Regions from separate parts of the Homo sapiens genome. Here region 1 is linked to region 2. The links are contacts of gene promoters, found by promoter capture Hi-C in human tissues and cell types (Jung and others, 2019). All regions are on one chromosome and are shown on one strand. The core of a region is centred on a gene start or on the middle of the fragment in contact, and the rest is flanking DNA. Distances in the headings are between cores, read along the strand shown. Region 1 overlaps LINGO2 (leucine rich repeat and Ig domain containing 2). Region 2 holds the start of C9orf72 (C9orf72-SMCR8 complex subunit).

The links. The method cuts DNA at HindIII sites, captures the fragments that hold promoters and counts their contacts. A contact is called where the count stands out against the background at its distance.
Region 1: a fragment that was not itself captured here is called in contact with the fragment with the promoter of C9orf72 in region 2 in 1 of the 25 tissues and cell types used here (mesendoderm cells).

What each region holds. Positions count from the first base shown.
Region 1 is chr9:28,086,841-28,090,356 of GRCh38, forward strand. The region is part of intron 6 of LINGO2 (leucine rich repeat and Ig domain containing 2); the gene reads right to left. Among named protein-coding and RNA genes, the nearest start is that of C9orf72, 520 kb to the left of the region's middle. The HindIII fragment of the contact is 5,233 bases long and covers 1-3,516 here.
Region 2 is chr9:27,571,763-27,574,979 of GRCh38, forward strand. It overlaps C9orf72 (C9orf72-SMCR8 complex subunit), which reads right to left and starts at 1,719. Exons shown (of 11, transcript NM_018325.5): 1 at 1,669-1,719. RefSeq lists enhancers at 1,113-1,202, 1,801-2,328 and a silencer at 1,713-1,792. The HindIII fragment of the contact is 8,764 bases long and covers 1-3,217 here.

The DNA.
Region 1 (3,516 bases), core at 59-2,558, 510 kb after region 2:
GGCAAGGCTTAAATAGCAAGTATTCTAGATTGATTATAAAAATGGCTCCAATTCTTTCTTTCCCTGTATCCACAGCACTCACAATATGACTTTGAAGTTATTTTCATGACAAGAGTCTATTTTTCCAACCTTTGGATCAGAGTTAGACTTGTGTGACAATGTGCCAGTTTCAAGCCCAGGCTTCACATGGCCTGGCATGCTTCTAATCACTCTCTGCTGTACCTTTGGACAAGTCCAGACTAGCTTTTTGAAGAAAAGAAAGCATAAACAGGAGAGCCAAGTCATGTAAGCTGAGGCCATCCCAGACCAGTTAGCTCCTAGTCCACTTGCCAGCTGACTACAGATGCATATGATACTCCAGCAGAGATAAGATGAGATTAACTGAGCCCAGACTAGATTGTTGGAAGTGCCCAGCTGACCCATAGACTCATGAGGTTTTATTGTAAATTACTTGCTTTGGGGTTATTTGTTATACAGCATTTTTGTAACAAGAGATAAACTGTATAGGAAGAAAAAGCACTTTTAAAACAATATGTGTTTTACCAATATTTCATTCTAATCATCACTATTAATTAACATTTCCCTTAAGGGTAAAAACGAATACCTCTAAGCAGAAATATAAGTAAAATATATTCATGAGAAAATTATTTTTCTTTTGAGTTCCCTAAGATTGAAAGTTTACCTGTGACTTAGGGTGAGATTCTTTCATTCTTCATTCATTCTTGGTCCTATCTGGGGAATCTTTTCCTGGAATGATCATGAAATAGATCCCTATGTGTGGTGTTCAGCACCCAGATACAGGAATATGCCACATACTCAACATGCATTTCCATTTTCATGCCCCCTCTCACAACTCAGCCAGCTGCTTTGAGCCAAGTACACCAGTGGCCCTTACCTAATTCCTGAGACAATCTTATGGGAATTAGCATTTCATTGGTACATATTTCCAGATTTGTGTGTTCACATTTCCAGTCCTGTAACATGAGTAACCCATGAGATAGCTCCTAGTCTTCAATAGCCACAATTTCCTCCATGGCTACCTAAGATACTTTAGTACCAGTAAAAGAAACTCTTTGGTTTCAGCATTCCCAATCACTATAATATAATGACTCAGTACAGAATAATAGGCATCTGTTCTGATAACCATACTATTCCTTGACAGTTCATGCTATTTGGATGTCCAGTGAAGCAATTTAAAGGAACAGATTTTGGAGTTCAAATCGTGGCTCTGCCATTAACTAATTTCGGATAAGAGATTTAATTAATCTGAACATCTGTTTTCTTATCTATAGTATTGGGATAACAATACCTCCTGCATAGGGTTTGAGGAGATGAAGAAATAAGATTATATATATATAATTATACACACACACACACACACACACACACACACACACATATAATGGTTTAGTACAACTAATGGGTACATAAATGGAAAAAGTGATGGCACCTGAAGTTCAGTTACATACAAGGCAACACATTGGACCTGCTTCTAGTATATACATTTGGACCATGGCTAAGACTGCTATGCCCTTTAGACTCTGGCCTTCATTGCCAGACTACCCTGATAAAAGCAAAATGTTAAAACCAAGATCTTCCTTTGCAAACACCATAGTAATCTGCATTCCATCTGATTCTGGTTTTCTTCCCTCATCCCTCTCCCCTACCTTGGGATCCGTGGATGAAATGTAGGTATATCCCAGGTCTAAGTCCTCTGGGTACTGACAGAAACACATATTGTGCAACATATGGAAGACCACAGAAATAGAGCCTTTAGCACGGGATTAAGACCAAGCATGAAGAAACTGTATCAACTAAAGAGCAAAATAACCAGCTAACATCATAATGATAGGATCAAATTCACACATAACAATATTAACCTTAAATGTAAATGGGCTAAATGCTCCAATTAAAAGACACAGACTGACAAACTGGATAAAGAGTCAAGACCCATCAGTGTGCTTGTATTCAGGAGACCCATCTCATGTGCAGAGACACACATAGACTCAAAATAAAGGGATGGAGGAAGATCTACCAAGCAAATGGAAAACAAAAAAAGGAAGGGGTTCCAATCCTAGTCTCTGATAAAACAGACTTTAAACCAACAAAGATCAAAAGAGACAAAGAAGGCCATTACATAATGGTAAAGGGATCAATTCAACAAGAAGAGCTAACTATCCTAAATATATATGCACCCAATGCAGGAGCACCCAGATTCATAAAGCAAGTCCTTAGAGACCTACAAAGAGACTTAGACTCCCACACAATAATAATGGGAGACTTTAACACACCATTGTCAACATTAGACAGATCAACGAGACAGAAAGTTAACAAGGATATCCAGGAATTGAACTCAGCTCTGCATCAAGTGGACCTAATAGACATCTACAGAACTCTCCACCCCAAATCAACAGAATATACATTCTTCTCAGCACCACATCACACTTATTCCAAAATTGACCACACAGTTGGAAGTAAAGTACATCTTAGCAAATGTAAAAGAATAGAAATTATAACAAACTGTCTCTCAGACCACAGTGCAATCAAACTAGAACTGAGGATTAAGAAACTCACTCAAAACTGCTCAACTACATGGAAACTGAACAACCTGCTCCTGAATGACTACTGGGTGCATAATGAAATGAAGGCAGAAATAAAGATGTTTTTTGAACCAATGAGAACAAAGACACATCATACCAGAATCTCTGGGACACATTTAAAGCAGTGTGTAGAGGGAAATTTATAGCACTAAAGGCCCACAAGAGAAAGCAGGAAAGATCTAAAATTGACAACCTAACATCACAATGAAAAGAACTAGAGAAGCAAGAGCAAACACATTCAAAAGCTAGCAGAAGGCAAGAAATAACTAAGATCAGAACAGAACTGAAGGAAATAGAGACACAAAAAGCCCTTCAAAAAAATCAATGAATCCAGGAGCTGGTTTTTTGAAAAGATCAACAAAATTGATAGACTGCTAACAGACTAATAAAAAGAAAAGAGAGAAGAATCAAATAGATGCAATAAAAAATGATAAAGGGGATATCACCATCGATCCCACAGAAATACAAACTACCATCAGAGAATACTATAAACACCTCTATGCAAATAAACTAGAAAATCTACAAGAAATGGATAAATTCCTGGACATATACACCTTCCAAGACTAAACCAGGAAGAAGTTGAATCTCTGAATAGACCAATAACAGGCTCTGAAATTGAGGCAATAATTAATAGCTTACCAACCAAAAAAAGTCCAGGACCAGATGCATTCACAGCCAAATTCTACCAGAGGTACAAGAACAAGCTGGTACCATTCCTTCTGAAACTATTCCAATCAATAGAAAAAGAGGGAGTCCTCCCTAACTCATTTTATGAGGCCAGCATCATCCTAATATCAAAGCCTGACAGAAACACAACAAAAAAAGAGAATTTCAGACCAATATCCTTGATGAACATCGATGCAAAAATCCTCAATAAAATACTGGCAAACTGAATCCAGCAGCACATCAAAAAGCT
Region 2 (3,217 bases), core at 469-2,968:
ACTTGTAACCATGCTGTTTATTTTCTCCCAGCCCAAAGAGAAGCAGGATCCTAAACCGTCCACTTTCCACAACAGGAGCTGCCCAGGACCACTTCAAGGACAGTGAACTGTTTACAGTACCAGAAAGTTCACAACACTTTCTCAATCTTCAACATCAGGGAAGACTGGAAGGTGAAGTTCATATCACTATCTGGCCATTTCTCACAGTTCCAAGTTTCTCAGACAATAGGTAGGCTAACCTAGTCCTCCTGGGAACTATCTAATTAACGTAGAATAGAACCCGAGGGCAGACTTGAAAAACAGAAGTCCTCCTTGGTTTACTTTGTTTCTCTGAAAGCAAATTGTGGAGTGCCAACATAGCCAAACAAAATATTTTATCAACTTCATAAGGTGCTTGTAATTTTTTCCTGGAGCAGGTAAATGCTGGCTTAGTGAACAATCTGGAATGTGGTAATTACTCTCGTTCTTGTTTCAGATGTACTATCAGCATGTAGCAGTTTCCAACTGATTCAGGGTTTTCCTAAAGTGGCAGGCCTTGGCAGAGGTGGTGACAACAATGCCCGTGTCAAATGACACCGTATTTCAAGTATTCTGACTCCAGGTTATTAATATCCCCTATATGATAGTCTTGTTTCTGTGATATTCACAGATTATGTTAAAAGTTTCCCAAAGTCTGAGAAAAATCATATCTTAACAGTATCTTTTTTTTTTTTGATCCTTTGTACAAAAGTAGAAGTAATGCCAGACAGATTACGTACCCTTGTTGTGAACAACTGGTGCATGGCAACTGTTTGAATAGAAATTTACCAACTGCCACAACCAGGCAACTACTCTCCCAGAGCCTAACAATCTCGATTGCATCTGAAAGGGCCACCCCTCCTGGGAAAGTGCAGGACCTCCCTCCTGTTTCTGAATACAAAGCCTGGTGGTGTTCAACGCGGCCAGATAGACCCAATGAGCACACGGACATGTAATCTGTGCACTTCTTTAGACAACTGATTACCATCAGTCAAGTGATGCCCAAGTCACAATAGTCACTTCCTTTAAGCAAGTCTGTGTCATCTCGGAGCTGTGAAGCAACCAGGTCATGTCCCACAGAATGGGGAGCACACCGACTTGCATTGCTGCCCTCATATGCAAGTCATCACCACTCTCTAGAAGCTTGGGCTGAAATTGTGCAGGCGTCTCCACACCCCCATCTCATCCCGCATGATCTCCTCGCCGGCAGGGACCGTCTCGGGTTCCTAGCGAACCCCGACTTGGTCCGCAGAAGCCGCGCGCCGCCCACCCTCCGGCCTTCCCCCAGGCGAGGCCTCTCAGTACCCGAGGCTCCCTTTTCTCGAGCCCGCAGCGGCAGCGCTCCCAGCGGGTCCCCGGGAAGGAGACAGCTCGGGTACTGAGGGCGGGAAAGCAAGGAAGAGGCCAGATCCCCATCCCTTGTCCCTGCGCCGCCGCCGCCGCCGCCGCCGCCGGGAAGCCCGGGGCCCGGATGCAGGCAATTCCACCAGTCGCTAGAGGCGAAAGCCCGACACCCAGCTTCGGTCAGAGAAATGAGAGGGAAAGTAAAAATGCGTCGAGCTCTGAGGAGAGCCCCCGCTTCTACCCGCGCCTCTTCCCGGCAGCCGAACCCCAAACAGCCACCCGCCAGGATGCCGCCTCCTCACTCACCCACTCGCCACCGCCTGCGCCTCCGCCGCCGCGGGCGCAGGCACCGCAACCGCAGCCCCGCCCCGGGCCCGCCCCCGGGCCCGCCCCGACCACGCCCCGGCCCCGGCCCCGGCCCCTAGCGCGCGACTCCTGAGTTCCAGAGCTTGCTACAGGCTGCGGTTGTTTCCCTCCTTGTTTTCTTCTGGTTAATCTTTATCAGGTCTTTTCTTGTTCACCCTCAGCGAGTACTGTGAGAGCAAGTAGTGGGGAGAGAGGGTGGGAAAAACAAAAACACACACCTCCTAAACCCACACCTGCTCTTGCTAGACCCCGCCCCCAAAAGAGAAGCAACCGGGCAGCAGGGACGGCTGACACACCAAGCGTCATCTTTTACGTGGGCGGAACTTGTCGCTGTTTGACGCACCTCTCTTTCCTAGCGGGACACCGTAGGTTACGTCTGTCTGTTTTCTATGTGCGATGACGTTTTCTCACGAGGCTAGCGAAATGGGGCGGGGCAACTTGTCCTGTTCTTTTATCTTAAGACCCGCTCTGGAGGAGCGTTGGCGCAATAGCGTGTGCGAACCTTAATAGGGGAGGCTGCTGGATCTGGAGAAAGTGAAGACGATTTCGTGGTTTTGAATGGTTTTGTTTGTGCTTGGTAGGCAGTGGGCGCTCAACACATAATTGGTGGATGAAATTTTGTTTTTACCGTAAGACACTGTTAAGTGCATTCAAAACTCCACTGCAAACCCTGGTAGGGGACAGCTCCGGCACTGCGGGCGGGAATCCCACGGTCCCCTGCAAAGTCATCGCAATTTTGCCTTTACATGTAAGAATTCTCTCAAGCATGATTTTCACACTGGGGAATGTCATTTTTGCTAGTTGCAATATGTGGATGAGTTGTTTTTTTTTAACTTTTGAAAAACGTACCATTCTGTTTGATGTGTAAAAAACACAAAGATTTTTGAAACCTTGCGTCTTTTGGTCTGCAGGTGTATAGATTCCACTTACTACAGATGAGTAGCATTTACACCACTCAGATGTGTAAAAAAACAAAGGTTTTTTAAACTGTGTGCCTTTTGATCTGCAAGTGTGAGATGGCACTTACTACAGTGAGTAGCATTTAATCTTTTTCATCACTAAAAATCACACAGAACGTTTTAATCATTCACCGAGGAAGAAAGGGAGGAATAAATACACAAAATGGCTCTCAACGTCTACACCTTCTGCAGAAACAGACCCTTTTCCTACTGTTCTATGCTTTGTGAAAGTTGATCATACAAATTGGGTCATTCTTTTTATACCCAACTAAAATAGTGGGGGTAGGGGGTAGAAAAGCACTTAGGACAAATGACACTGCTCCCACAGTGTAATTCTCTCCAAGTCCAGCTGCTGCAACTGCCCGTTGTGACCTGAGACCAGTTTTATCTAATAGTTGCTAAAATGACCTGCTGCAGCTCTAATTTTATCTACCACCATCACTCACCAGTTGAAACTCACCAGCTCCTCAGATCCTTAATAGTGCCAATGAATTTTCTCAAAGAGCACTATGTAACATTTCTCTTTTTTA